Regions from separate parts of the Homo sapiens genome. Here region 1 is linked to region 2. The links are contacts of gene promoters, found by promoter capture Hi-C in human tissues and cell types (Jung and others, 2019). All regions are on one chromosome and are shown on one strand. The core of a region is centred on a gene start or on the middle of the fragment in contact, and the rest is flanking DNA. Distances in the headings are between cores, read along the strand shown.

Region 1 (7,555 bases), core at 1,261-3,760, 120 kb after region 2:
GGTCAAACACCTGAGTTAAATTTTGGAAAGCTTCTTTATACCTATCGGAGTCATCAGAAAATCAGCCTAAGTATCCCTTTATTTGCCTAAGGTCATGCAATGAGACAGGAACTTGAACCCTAGTGGCATCACCTCCATTGGTCATTTCCTGCAGGGGTAAGAGTGAAGCTGGGGGAGTGGGGAATTTTGGAGATAGTGGAACTAGAGGAGCTGATGGCACAGTTGGAGGGGGCCCTAAATAAGGGGGACAGGAAGAGCCGGGACACTCAATAGCTGCCTGAAGTTGCTTTTTTAGTTTTGGGGAATCATTACCTTTTGGATTGCCTGATATGACTGCTAAAAGAGCTTGGTTGATTGTCCAGTGCATGCAAAGGTCTAGTAAGAAGGCCATGCCCTTGTGCAAAAGCAGTTTCAGGATTAAAGGAGTCTCAGTGCTTCAGAATGCACTTGAGCGGGGTGCAGGCTAAAGATGGCTAGAAAGCTAGGGGAGACAAGGAGTCCCTTATTCCCCTCCTTCCTTTAGAATGGCCCAAGGTAGACAGGAAGACAATGGGAGCATCCCCCAACTGTTTTCCCTTCTTGGTTCCCTGAGCCTCGGCATCTGTTAAAAGGTGCTACTCTTGGATGCAGGCATGTCCCTCAGGCATGGATCTAGAGAAGCTAAGTGATGGATTTAGTCACACTCACCCATGCAACTCTAATCCTCCACTGGTGATTTCCCTTTGACTTCCTAACTTCTGTGATCTATGTGGCTACCTGATAGATGGCTCTTGGGAAAGACTATATAACAGTTGTATTTGCAAGGCCCTTTAATGGAGAGAGTGTACTGGGTTGAGCTCTATACTGCTATTATGGCCTGGACTAAAATATTTATTGTTAGGCAGTGGTTCTGGTTAACTTTAAGACATTACATCCCCTTACTATTTAAGTACCATTTTAATGAGAGGCAGAATAAGTGCCTTAAAAGAATGTAGGAACTGAATGGTGGTTTTCCTGCTGATGGGACAATATCAAAACTAAAATTTGGTTTTGGAGGGCATTTTCCTCCTCATTGTTGAGTTTTCCCATTCACAGAAGGAGCATAAAGCCTGGCCTCTAGTAGAGGAGTACAAAAGGGGAGGAGAATTGGAAAACTAGAGTGTTTAGGCAAAGGGCTGACAAGGTACCTCATGGAGAGGATTTCTATTCCACTAGGTGGTGCTGTAGACCTTGAAATACCATGTGATCTCCAGAGCAAGCGGGGAGAGAGATGCTCACTGCCAGGGAAAGGGAGATCCTTTCTATTCCTAGAAAATCACAAAAATGGCAATCCTTTGCATTATATTCCTGGTTACTATGGCATTTGCTGATGCTATCTAACAGGATTATTTCCCTGAAGTGTAAAAATTCCCACAGCATTTCATACAGAGAGGGGATAGGAGACATGGCAGTCGACAGGAAAGAAGGAAAAATGCAATAGGAAAAGCTTGGAGATCCTGTTACTGATGCTCAGTGGGCAGTCAGAGTCTGAGGTTAATCCAGAAGCCTTCGGGTAACACCTGGGTGTAGCCCTGGCCAGGAACTATCAGTTGCCTCTGGACCTCTTCCAGCCCCATGCAATAGCTAGGCTCTCCATGAAAGGAAACTGGTTTGAAACACAGTCAACATTCCCAGCACCCTGAGGGTACCGAGGGATTCACTAAGTTCTCCCGAGCAAGCCTGTTGTCTAAGTCTTGAGATGGGTGGCATTCCCTAAGGGCATCTAGGTGGCCATCAGACACCGAATGTTTTTGGTTTTATTTTAAAATGGAGGGCAGAAGGCCCCAAAATGAAAGTAAAGATTTGGGGTCTGCTCCTATACTCACCCTTCTGATGAATCTACCTTGGATCCCAGATGGGCCCCACAATGAAGTGGCCTCATTGTTGGGGGTGATACCCGAGGTTTGTTGTCTCATGGCTGAGGAAATCAAGGACCTGGGCACACAAAGAGTGAGGTTAAGAGTGGAAGTTTAATAGGTGAAAGAGAATAGCTTTCTGCTGGAGAGGGGGATCCCAGAGAAATGGCTTGTCAGATCTGTGGTTAAATGCAGGGGCTCTTATAGGTGCCTGATGAGGAGGCAGTATCTGATTTACATAGGGTGTGAAAGATTGGTTGGACCAGGTGTGCCATCTGCATAGGGTATGAAAAACTCATTAGAACTAGGTTTGTCATTTGCATAGGGCACAAAAAAATGGTCGCCCCCATACTAATCTTCTAATATGCAGGCAGGTCCTCTGCCTGGCCTGCACCATGTTGCCCATCCCTTTACTGTACACATATTAACAAAAAAAGAAAAGATGGAGCCTCCATGTTGGACATGCCTGGCTCCCAGGTAGCCCTTTTCTATTGGCACAACTGCTGGCATTCCCCCATGCAAACTTCCAGCTTGCTTATCTATGTTTTCAGCTCAGTTTTTCAGGCTGCTCTTTGTTAGAAAAAAATAATTTCTTGGGCTGCTTCTTGCTAAAAGGGAAGCTTTGCTGAGGACTCTTTTACCCTATCTGCCTAAATAATTTCTTTCTACCTCCTGTATCAGTATGTTGCCTCTTTGTTCTCCTTTAGTTTCAAAGAATATCTTGATTTCTCCCTTAATTTCATTATTTACCCAAAAGTCATTCAGGAGCAGGTTTATTTCAATGTAATTATATGGTTTTGAGCAATTTTCTTAGTATTTCTATTTTATGGTGCTGTGCTCCAAGAGTGTGGTTAGTATGATTTCATTTTTTTTTAAAATTGTACTGAGGATTGTTCTATATCTGATTGTGTGGTTGACTTTAGAATATGTGCCATGTGCAGCTGAGAAGAATGTATATTCTGTTGTTTTGGGGTGGAGTGTTCTGTAGATGTCAATTGGGTCCATATGGTCAAGTATTGAGTTCAGGTCATTAATATCTTTGTCAGTTTTCTGCCTCAATGATCTAATATTATTATTGGGGTATTCATGTCCTGCACAATTATCGTATGTTTATCCAAGTCTCTTTATATGTCTCTAAAAGCAACTTGCTTTTTGAATCTGGGTCTCCTCTGTTGGATGCATATATATTTAGGATAGTTCTTGTTGAATTGAGCTCTTTACCATTATATAATATCCTTCTTTGTCTTTTTTTTTTTAATCTTTGTTGGTTTAATGTCTGTTTTGTCTGAGTTTAGAATAATTTCAACAACCCCTGCTTTTTTTCTCTTTTCCATTTGCTTGGTAGATTTTTCTCCATCCGTTTGCTTTCAGCCTATGGGTGTCATCACATGTGAGATGGGTCTCTTGAAGACAGCATACCATCAGGTCTTGCTTCTTTATTCAACTGATCACTCTGTGCCATTTAGCTCATTTATATTCAAAGTTAATATTGATATGTGAGGATTTGTTCATTATTATGCAGACTTGTTCATGTGGTTGCTTTATAGTGTTAATGGTCTATTTACTTAAGTGTGTTTTTGTAGTGGCCGGTAACAGTCTTTTCTTTCCAAGTTTAGCACTCCCTTCAAGACCTCTTGTAAGGCATATCTGGTCGGATAGTAATGAAATCCCTTAGCATTTGCATGTCTGAAAAGGATCTTATTTCTCCTTCACTTACAAAGCTTAGCTTGGCTGGATATGAAATTCTTGGTTGGAAATTCTTTTCTTTAAGAATGTTGAGCCCAGCGCAGTGGCTCATACCTGTAATCCTAGCACTTTGGGAAGCTGAGGCAGGTGGATCACTTGAGGCCAGAAGTTCAAGAGCAGACTGGCCAATATGGTGAAACCCTGTCTCTACTAAAAATACAAAAAATTAGGTGCGGTGACGCATGCTTGTAATCCCAGTTACTTGGGAGACTGAGGTATGAGAATCACTTGAACCTGGGAGGCGGAGGTTGCAGTGAACCAAGATCGCACCATTGTACTCCAGCCTGGATGACGGGAGCAAGACTCTGTCTCAGAAAAAAAAAAAAAAAAAAAGATTGACTATAGGCCCCCATTCTCCTCTGGTTTGTGCTGAAAGGTCTGCTGTTTGTTAGTTGATGGGTTTTTTTTTGTAGGTGACCTGTCCTTTCTCTCTAGCTGCCTTTAACATTTCTATCATTTTGACCTTGGAGAATCCAATTACTATGTTTCTTGGGGATGGTCTTCTTGTGTAGTATTTCACAGGGGTTCTCTGCATTTCCTGAATTTGAATGTTGGCCTCTATAGCAAAGTTGGGGAAATTGTCATGCATGATAACCTGAAATGTGTTTTCCAAATTGCTTGCTTTCTCTCCTTGCATTTCAGGGATACCAATGAGTCATATTTTTGGTCTCTTTACATAATCCCATATTTCTCAGAGGTTTTGCTCATTCTTCCTTACTATTTTTTTATTTTGGTCTGACTGAGTTATTTTGAAGAGCCAGTCTTTCAGCTCTGAGTCTTTCCTCAGCTTGGTTGATTCTGCTGTTAACATTGCAGTTGTATTCTGAAATTCTTAAAGTGAGCTTTTCAGCTGTATCAGCTCACTTTGCTTCTTTCTTAACATGGCCATTTCATCTTTCATCTCCCATATTATTTTATTTATTCCTTAGATTCCTTGTATTGGGTTTCAACTTTCTCCTGAATGTCAGTGATCTCCATTCCCATCCATATTCTGAATTCCATTTCTGTCATTTCAACCTGTTTAAGAACCATTGCTGGAGAACTAGTGTGGTCATTTGGAGGTAAAAAGACACTCTGGCTTTTTGATTTGCCAGAGTTCTTGTCTGGTTCTTTCTCATCTGTGTGGGCTGGTATTCCTTCAATCTTTGAAGGTGCCATCCTTTGGATGGGCCAGGGTGCAGGGCCACTGGTGTCCATGCTTAATGTTCATGCTGGCAGTGGCAGTGGAAGTGGGTGTGCTTATGCTGGCAGTAATGGCATGGTGGGGTACGTGCACACCCACCCAGTCTCCAGATTTGGAAAGTTTTCTGTTATTCTTTGAATAAGCTTTCTACCCCTTTTGTCTTTCTCATATCCCTCTTTAACTTTAGCAACCCTAATATTTTCTTTTTTGATGTTGTCCCATAGATCCTGCAAGCTTTTATTCCTTTTCATTCTTCTTCCTTTTTTCTCCTCTGACTGTATATTTTCATATAATCTTTGAGCTCACTGATTCCTCTGTTTGATTAATTCTGCTGTTGATACTCTCTGTTGACTTTTTCATTTCATTCATTATATTTTTCAATTCCAGGATTTCTTTGATTTTTTTTTTTTTTTAATTATTTCAATCTCCTTGTTAAATTTTTCTGGTAAATTTCTGAACTGATTCTCTGTGTTTTCTTGAAGTTCACTGTGCTTCCTTAAAACATCTGTTTTGGCTGGGCATAGTGACTCATGCCTATAATCCCAGCACTTTGGGAGGCTGAAGTAGGAAGATTGCTTGAGCCCAGGAGTTCAAGACCAGCCTGGGCAACAAAGTGAGTCTCCCATGTCTACAAAAAAATAAAAACATTAACCAGGCATGGTGGTGCATGCCTGTGGTCCCAGCTACATGGGAGGCTGAGGTGGGAGGATTGCTTGAGCCCAGGAGGTTGAGGCTGCAGTAAGCAATGTTCATGTCACTGTACTCCAACCTGGGTGACAGAATGAGAGCCTGTCTCCAAAAAAAGCACAAAACAAAACAAAAAAAATAAAAAAACCCAAAAAAATGTTCTTTTGAATTCTTTGTCTGAGAGATCACACATCTCTATTACTTTATGTTTGATCTCTGGCATCTTATTTTGTCTGTTTGGTGACGTCATATTTCCCTGAATATTCCTGATGTTTGTAGAAGTGTGATGATATCCGTGCCTTGAAATATTAGGTATTTATTTTTGCCTTTGTAGTCTGGCTTTGTGTGTGCCTGTCCTTCTTCAGAGGGACTTCCAGGGATTCTAGGCAGACTGACTGTTACATTTCCTGAGCTTGGGACCACTACTGGCATCTCAGCACTGAGCGATGGTCTAAACCCAGGCTTGCTGCAAGTCTTGCAAAGACTGAGATTGGTGTGGCTTTCTGGCCCAAATGGCTCTGGGAAGACCCAAACACAGGACTGGGGCTATGTGGGAATGTTGGCCAAGGGGACCTGAGTCCAGAACACTGTCCCAGTGGCCCAGATATGTGTTCCTCCCAGCAGGTCTCTGCATGGGCAGGATGGGTCCCAGCTGTAGCCAGAGGGACTGAATTTAAGACTGGGGCATGTTGGGATCTGTTGTAGGAATGAAGCTGGTGGTCCATCTCATTGGCTTAGACAGGTGTATGTCACCTAGCAGGTCCCTGCACAAGTAGTTCCTTGACTGCAACAAGAGGGACCAGAACTGAGACTGGGTCCCCTTGGGATCTGCCGTGGGATGGAGGCTGGTGTGCCTGTCATGGTGGTTCAGACAGGCACACATCTGCCTGCATGTCTCCGCACAGATGGAATAATTCCCTGATTGTAGAGGGAGGGGCTGGAACTGACCATAGGCCCCCTTGGGATCTGCTGTGGAACAGAGGCTAGAGAGCCCTGTCTTGGTTCAGGGAGGTGCACATTGCCTAGCAAGTTCCTGCACAGATAGGATAGTTCCCTGACTATAGCAGGCGGGGCCAAATCGCAGACTGGGCCCACACAGGATCTGCTGTGAGGTAGAGGCTGGAGAGCCCAGTCTCATTGGCTCAGAGGGGCATGTGTCTCCTAGCAAGTCCCTATGCAGATGAGATAGTAACCTGATTGCAGCAGGAGGGGCCAGGGCTGACACTGGGCCCCGCTGGGATTTGATATGGGAAGAAGCCCATCTTGTTGGCCCAGACAGGCATGTGTCTCCCAGCAGGTCTCAGCACAGATAGGATAATTCTCCACTGTAGTGACAGGGGTCAGAGCTGAGACTGGGTCCTCTCAGGATTTGCTGTAGGGTAAAGGCTAGAAAGCCCAGCCTCATTGGCTCAGAGGGGCATGTGTCTTCCAGCAAGTCCCTGCACAGTCTGGTTAGTTCTCTGATTGCAGCTGGAGGGACCAGGTCTCAAACTGGGTCCCCTCAGAATTTGCTGTGGGACAGAAGTTGGTGAACTCATCTGGGAGCCTCAGGCTGCAAGATATAGGTGAGTCTCCCTCTGGGTCCTTGTGCAAGAGGCTGTGAGCAGGGACCTCAGCTGAGAGGGGGTGGATCAGAAAAACGGCAACTTTCAGGCTTACTGCTAAGATCAATGTCAGCAGGCAGACAAGCCTTTCCACCAAGGCACTAGTGTGCACTACTCCTTCTGGACCTCTCTGCAGATGGTTTTGGTTGCAGGCTCAAGGCCAAATATGGCTGTAGCCCAGGACCTTGGAAGCCTGGGGTGTTTCTAGGCTTGAACTGGGGAGCAAGCTTGGTGGATCAGCCACTTGGGTGTTGGTCTGTACCCTCAAAACAATCCTTCAATGTCTTGGGATCCACCAGGGTTTCAAAAACTCCTACCTGAATCTTGATGCTCCTGCAGAGAGACTTTTGACTGTGGGCGGGTGTGGAATTTTTGTGGTTGTGAGGGGACATGAGTGGGTTACTTTCTATTCCACCATCTTCTCTCTGCCTTTTTGCATTCTGAGAGTCTCTCCACTCAGT
Region 2 (7,263 bases), core at 4,645-7,144:
ACACAGGGCTTTCCTGTACTGATGAGAAAAGGCACAGATCCTGAAGAGCTCTGAGCTTTGTGAAGAGAAACTGAGGCCCAGACTCAGATCTGGGATGAAGAGTCACCTGTACCAACTGCCCAATCCTCAACCCTCGCCTCAGCACCAGGTGGAGAGCATCCTCATCTCTCCTCGTAGAACGCTTCTCTGCAAAGGCCAGGAAGGTGTGGGTGGGGGGTATGTAGAGCAGGGCTGGGATCCGGTAGGTAATCCCTCTGTCATCTTCCTGCCGGAACAGAGGGCTGTTGAAGGAGCATGTTGTCACTTCTTCCATGACCTCTGCAAGGATAGAAGGAAGCTTAATGTGTGTCCATACCCAGATGCTGGCCTGCATATAAATTCTGCTTCATCATTTCACTTCTGGAGAGCAAAGGTGGGGGGGCACAGATATATTCAAATGTTTCTTTATACAAGAATAACATATGCTCTCAATAGCACAAAGCAAGCAATATACATTCTTGTTTAACAAATGAGAATTTCATTAACTCCAGACCCTGTGGGAATTCTATGTGGCCTGTATCAAGTATGTATCTTGGAGCAGAGCGGTTTTGCATTTGTTTTTGCCAAGCATCCAGGGGTATTACCAGCCTGAGGTGGTTTTTATTATCAACTTCTTGGCTTGGAGTTTCTAGGCCATTTGGGTATCTGTATGAGTGAATGCCTATGGTTAAGAATTTTCTGGGAAAACTTTTTTTCTGTACGAAAGCCTAGGATAAAAGGCAATCTCTTTGTCTTCTATCTGTGTCAGTAGGGAGAATTTTTTTTTTTCCTAGTAGATCTGGTTTGATATTTGTCCCCTCTAAAACTCATGTTGAAACTTAATCCCTGATATGGCAGTGTTGAGAGGTGGGGCCTCTAAGAGATGATAGGGTTATAAGGGCTCTGTCCTCATGAATGGATGAATGGATGAATGGGTTATCATGGGAGTGCATTAGGGGCTTTATAAGAGGAAAACTAGAGATCTGAGCTAGCATAATCAGCCCCCTTGCCATGTGATGCCCTATGCCACCTCCAGACTCTGCAGAGTCCCCACCAGCAAGAAAGCCCTCACCAGATGTGGCCTCTGGACCTTGGATTTCTCGGACTCCATAACTGCAAGAAATTTCTTTTCTTTATAAGTTACCCAGTTTCACGTATTCTGTTATAAGCAACAGAAAGTGAATTAAGATACTAGTCCACCCTATCAGAAGGTATACACCCTACACAGGGTGCAGATTTTCAAGGGACCTAGCTTCATGTGAGTATTTCACATGCCATCCTCTGTCAAAAACTAGAGTCTAACCAGGCCGGGCGTGGTGGCTCACACCTGTAATCCCAGCACTTTGGGAGGCCAAGGTGGGCGGATCACGAGGTCAGGAGATCGAGACCATCCTGGCTAACATGGTGAAACCCCATCTCTACTAAAAATACAAAAAAATTAGCCGGGTGTGCTGGCAGGCACCTGTGGTCCCAGCTACTCAGGAGGCTGAGGCAGGAGAATGGTGTGAACCCAGGAGGCAGAGCTTGCAGTGAGCTGAGATTGCCCCACTGCACTCCAGCCTGGGAGACGGAGCAAGACTCCATCTCAAAAACAAAAACAAAAAAACACCAACAACGACAACAAAAAACCCACTAGAGTCTAACCCATGCGGACCTATAGCTTCATTTGGTATAACAACAGGCCTATTAAAGTCCAAGTTTCTAGGTGAGACATCCAGTGCAGCTGAGGGCAGATTAAGGAGCTAACCACTCTGGTTTTCAGTTCACTCTTGGTTTCTAGGTCCCTGGAGATTTCTCTTACTTTCTTGCAAATTCAGCTATAAAGGGCTTTGTTATTTTTTTTCTTTTGAGACGGAGTTTTGCTCTTGTTGCCCAGGCTTGAGTGCAATGGTGTGAGCTCGGCTCACTGCAACCTCCACCTCCTGGGTTCAAGCAACTCCCCTGCTTCAGCCTCCCAAGTAGCTGGGATTGCAAGCGCCCGCCAGCACGCCCAGCTAATTTTTTGTATTTTTAGCAGAGACGGGTTTCACCATGTTGGCCAGGCTGGTCTCCAACTCCTGACCTCAGGTGATCCACCCACCTTGGCCTCCCAAAGTGCTGGTATTACAGGCATGAGCCACCGTGCCCGGCCGGCTTTGTTATATTTTACCCACCATTTTACAGGTTGGCTACCCTGCCATAATGCTCACAATGGAGTCTCCAAGTATTCTTCTTAAAGAAAACCAGGTGTTCCACTTCTCAGAGGTCCAAAAGGGGAATCAAGCCAGACAGACAAAAAGCAGCCTTAGAATTACTTTTTCCTCAAACCAACTGTCATCCAAACCCAATTTTACAAATCATTTGTAAATATTATCAGGCTGTAAGAACAATTGATTCAATAAATATTTCTAGGTTCCTCCTCTGTGTCAGGCCCTAAAATAGATGCTGAGAAGACAGAGAAGGATCAGAGGTTCCTGCTCTCAAGAAACCCAATCCAAGTGAGGGAAACAGACATATACATGGACAATTATAACATGATGTAATAAGTGCTACTTTAGAGGTAAACACAACAGCAAGTAGAAAAACACAAAAGTGGCATCTATCCAGATCAAGGCACCAGAGAAGGATTTTTGGAGAGAATGATTGAGCCAAAAGAACTCCTGCCTCATATAGTCACAGGCTCTGCCTGGAACACTCGTTTCAGATAGCCACATAACGCTCCCTCACCTTCTTCAGCTCTGCTCAAACATCATCCAATCAGGAAGGTTTCTCTGTCAACTCCTTTGCCCCAGCCTATCTTCTTTCCTTGTTCTATTCTCCACACCACTTATCACACTTTGATGCCTCCTATGTTACATTTGTTTAATACATACCACAAAATGGAAGCTCCAGAAACAGCAAGGGTATGTCTGTTTTCTTATTGCTCCGCCTTGACACCTAGAACTATGCCTATTAAGTAATAGGCACTCAACAAATTTTTGTTGAATGATTGAATGAATCAGTGAGCCAGATCTTAAAGAATGAACAGTGGATTAGCCAACTGAGGGTTAAAAGGAGAAGCGCAGAGGACAAGGATGTGAAAAGCCTATAGGCAACAGAAAACAGTGAGTTTTGGGGCCTCTCAGTAGTTTAGTGTGACTACAGTAAGGTGGAGTGCAAGGGATGGGGGCAGAGGTGGGACTGAAGGGGTCAGCACAGTCCAGATCCTGGGAGGCTTAGATAACTTATTAAGGTGTTTATTCCACAGATGGGAGACCACTCAAGAATTTTTGACAGAGGAATGGCATGATGATTTTAGACCAATCTTCCAGGAAGCTTTCAGGACAGTGAACCATACGGCAAAGTTGCACTGCTTTTGGCTACAGCCTCCTAGTGTCAACCAAGACAAACTTTTATCAATAGCATATGAATATTTAGTCACTTGTTCCTAACTTGAAGAAGGGAAAAGAACTATTGCTCAGTATCATGAGGGGAACTGGGAGAGTGGCCTTGCTGAGTCCAGAAGAAAAGCCTCCCTTCATTTCAATCCCAGGCTCTCAACAGCAGAATCAAAAGATAAGCAAGGGGAGACCATCTTCTCACTCAATACTAGAGCATACTTCTCTCCCCTCAATTCAGGCTCTCCTCCCCGGGAGGGTCAGGCTTTGTTCTAAGCAAACAATCTGTCTCTGAGCCAGGCTGGTGTAATGGTTAAGAACATAGGATTTGGACCAGGCCAGGACTATGTGACCTTGGGCATGTTATTCAACTTCTCTATGCTTCAGGATCCTCCCCTATACAATTCAGCAGAGTAGGTGATAGAAATAAAATGCTTAACTACAGTGGCTATTACAAGGCCTATGACATAGTATGAGTGCAATATATGACAGTTATTATTTTTAAACTACCAATTACTGTATATTCTAGTTTTATTCCTTGAATCCTGTGGATAACAATGACAATAATAACAATTACAACTCCCTTTCTTAAAAACATTTAAATCCCCCTTTATTGCTGAAAGAGAACATACTTTAAACTCTTAACACCTTAATTACAAGTTAAACCAACACTACTATCATCAGTCAACATGTGACTATTAGTTAAATCTAAACAGGAATTCTCCAGGTGATAAGAAGAATGGAGCACAGGATAGGCATGGAGCGGGTTAGGGCTCAGAACAGGAAAGGAAGAGGCTGGGTGCGGTGGCTCATGCCTATATTCCCACCACTCTGGGAGGCTGAGGTGGGCAGATCACTTGAGGTCAGGAGTTCGAGACCACCCTGGCCAACATGGTGACACCCCATCTCTACTAAAAATACAAAAAAAATTGGCCAGGCATGGTGGCATCCACCTGTAATCCCAGCTATTCGGGAGGCTGAGGCAGGAGAATCACTTGAAACCAGGAGACGGAGGTTGCAGTGAGCCGAGACTGCACCACTGCACTCCAGCTTGGGTGACACAGCAAGACTCCATCTCAAAAAAAAAAGGAAATGGAGAGGAAATAGGGAAATAATCACCAAAGGAGAAGCACAACTTGTCACATGGGCTGGATTCAAGTCTCAGCTCCATTTCTTGCTGCATGACGTTTTGATGGTTACTCAACCTCTAGGTCTTGGATTCCTTGCTTGTAAACTATGGATAATAATACCTACCTAAGCAGATCAATATGAAGAACCACTCAAAAGTGTTTTATAAATTTTAAACTGCTGTTTTAATAGGTGTCTTTAATTATAAATTTTGATGTCCTCACAATTTCATTTATGCTTTATTATCACTATAACAATTAGAGCCATTAATTTTTGTAATTATGCTGATCGTGTTGATGACAGAAGTAATATAGATGGTGATTCTGGCATTGCCACCCAAAACGTTTCACACAAATCAGGTGCTGGAAACGGGATAGAAAATAATCAGATATGGGCCTGCTCTGGGGTTCATTTAAGCAGAGAATTCAAATGATTACTTGCTGCTCGATATAATCACTTTCCCATCAAGTCCTTCCCGCTTTCTTACTGGGAGAGAGTATAGCCTAGCATGGACTCTGAAGTCTGACTTATCTTTGACACTTACTAGCAAGTCACTTTACTTCTGAGCTTCAGTTTCCTCACTTATAAAATGGAGATAATACCGCCTACTTCTCAGACTATAATAATGTAATTCCACAGCCTCCAACTAACCCAATGAGCCTCCAGTGAATCCCAGGAGGCCTTCCTATCTCATTTATTCACTCCTAACAAGTAATATTTAAGGAGCACCTACCACGTGCCAGACCTTTGAAGATCTGTAGTCTAAACCCTCTCATGGTATAGATGGGAAAACTCGGGCCCGGGATGGGGACAAAGCTTACTGAACGCCACTCCACAGTAAAATCTGGACCAAGACCCAGGTCTCCTAAGTTGAAACTGAAGCTCAGGGCTCTTTCTGCCGCCCAGAGACCTTTGGTAAGCAGGGCTTTTCCAGTCTCAGTTCCCTTTCATCTCTGGAGTGATAATTCTGAGGTTTAAGTTCGGCTTCTGTGAGAACGAATAAAAATAGGACTAGCCAAGAATTCTCTGGCCAGGTCAGATCCTAGCCGACTAGGTGGCTCTGTCTCAATAATCCAAGGCTGGATTTCCCAAACGCAGATGGTCTTGCTCAACCTGTCCCCACAGTTGAGTCCTCCTCGGGGAGCTCTCCTGTCTCCCAACCCCGCTCACCTGCACTGGACCCCGGCTCCTCCGTCTCTGTCGGGGCAGAGCTGGACGCCGGGGATTCTTCCATGGGGCGCGGGGGCAGGTCCGCAGGTCTCATTCGCCGAAGCCCGGAAGAGGCACCGGCCCCAAGGCTGGGGAGACTGAGACAGAGGAGGATAGAGAGGGAGAAACAACTGAGACGGAGGACACGGAGACAAGCCCCGAGAAGCGAAGAGCGTGTCGACTGCCGGAAACAGGTAACGGCAACGAAAAGAGGCGGGCGCAGGCTGTAGTCAGTGGCGGTTGGGGCCAACCGTTGGCCTACTCCGCGAGCCCTCCCCGTCCCGCCCCCTCGGCGCTGCCCCTCCCTCCAGCCCGCAGCTCGGTCCCCACCACGGCGTGGGACCGGCACCACCTCCACCCTCGCCAACTCAGCTCAAGCCCTGGGCCCACCTCAGTTCCCAACGGCCGCCTCCTCTCTTCAGTGCCACAGCCCCGAGCTCTTATATTGGTCTGTAGCTCGGTATCACCGCCTAAAGCTTCCCTGGACAGCCTGAGAGTTGAGCAAAGGTTCCCGGCCTCAGAGGGTACCCTACAAAAAGGACCAGAGGTCCAGAGCATTGGCTACTCTCCTTGCAAAATATGAAAATGAAAATATATTCATATATATAATTTATGTGTGTGTATATACACACATTTACATACATAGATTTGTCACATAGCACTGAGTCCATTCTTCTGTTTCACAGTACCGGAATTTAAGCCCCCCTCTCCCCAGCCAAAGAGGAAAGGACTGATCTAAGGTCATTTTTTATCTGGGACTAAGTACAACGTAAAGGTAATAGGCTGGGCCTGGTGGCTTATGCCTACAATCTCAGCGCTTTGGAAGGCCTACGTGGGAGGATGCCTTGAGCCCAGGAGTTGGAGGCTGTGGTGAGCTGTGATTGCACCACTGCACTCCAGCCTGGGTGACAGAGCGAGACCCTGTCTCTAAAATATAACAATTTTAAAAAGAAGAAATTTTACAAACGCCAATAAAAGGAAAGACAGACTGCTAACTTAGAGGACATAAAAATGTAAAGCTTCTGTAAATTTGAATTCGTGATATTTTTCTCATTAAAAAAAATCCTGTGCTGAGGCAGGGAACATACAAGATGAGCCTGGAACATCGTGGTGCCACAAGGAAAGAACTCACAAAATGATGAGGGTTCTTTGAAAGAACATAGGTGCCAACCTCAATACAACCTGCTGTATTTTTCTAAAAAAAAAAAAAAAAAAAAGAAAAAAAAAAAGGCCTAGAACCAGAGACCAACTCATCGTAATAAGCCCAAATAATGGGTCTTTTTTATTTTTATTTTTATTTTTTGAGATGGAGTGTGTCTCTGCCGCCCAGGCTGGAGTGCAGTGGCGTCATCTTGGCTCACTGCAAGCTCCGCCTCCCGGGTTCACGCCATTCTCCTGCCTCAGCCTCCCGAGTAGCTGGGACTACAGGCGCCCACCACCACGCCCGGCTAATTTTTTGTATTTTTTATAGAGACGGGGTTTCACCATGTTAGCCAGGATGATCTCGATCTCCTGACCTCGTGATCCGCCCGCCTCGGCCTACCAAAGTGCT

The links. Contacts are between HindIII fragments. The study calls those that stand out against the background at their distance.
Region 1: a fragment that was not itself captured here is called in contact with the fragment with the promoter of NEU3 in region 2 in 2 of the 25 tissues and cell types used here (liver and thymus).

What each region holds. Positions count from the first base shown.
Region 1 is chr11:74,864,316-74,871,870 of GRCh38, reverse strand. All of the region lies in intron 10 of XRRA1 (X-ray radiation resistance associated 1), which reads left to right. Among named protein-coding and RNA genes, the nearest start is that of XRRA1, 81 kb to the left of the region's middle. The HindIII fragment of the contact is 3,523 bases long and covers 749-4,271 here.
Region 2 is chr11:74,987,564-74,994,826 of GRCh38, reverse strand. It overlaps NEU3 (neuraminidase 3), which reads right to left and starts at 5,894. Exons shown (of 3, transcript NM_006656.6): 1 at 5,673-5,894; 2 at 107-318. The coding sequence starts at 5,766. RefSeq lists enhancers at 1,826-1,945, 5,625-5,814, 6,095-6,144. The HindIII fragment of the contact is 16,586 bases long and covers 5,754-7,263 here.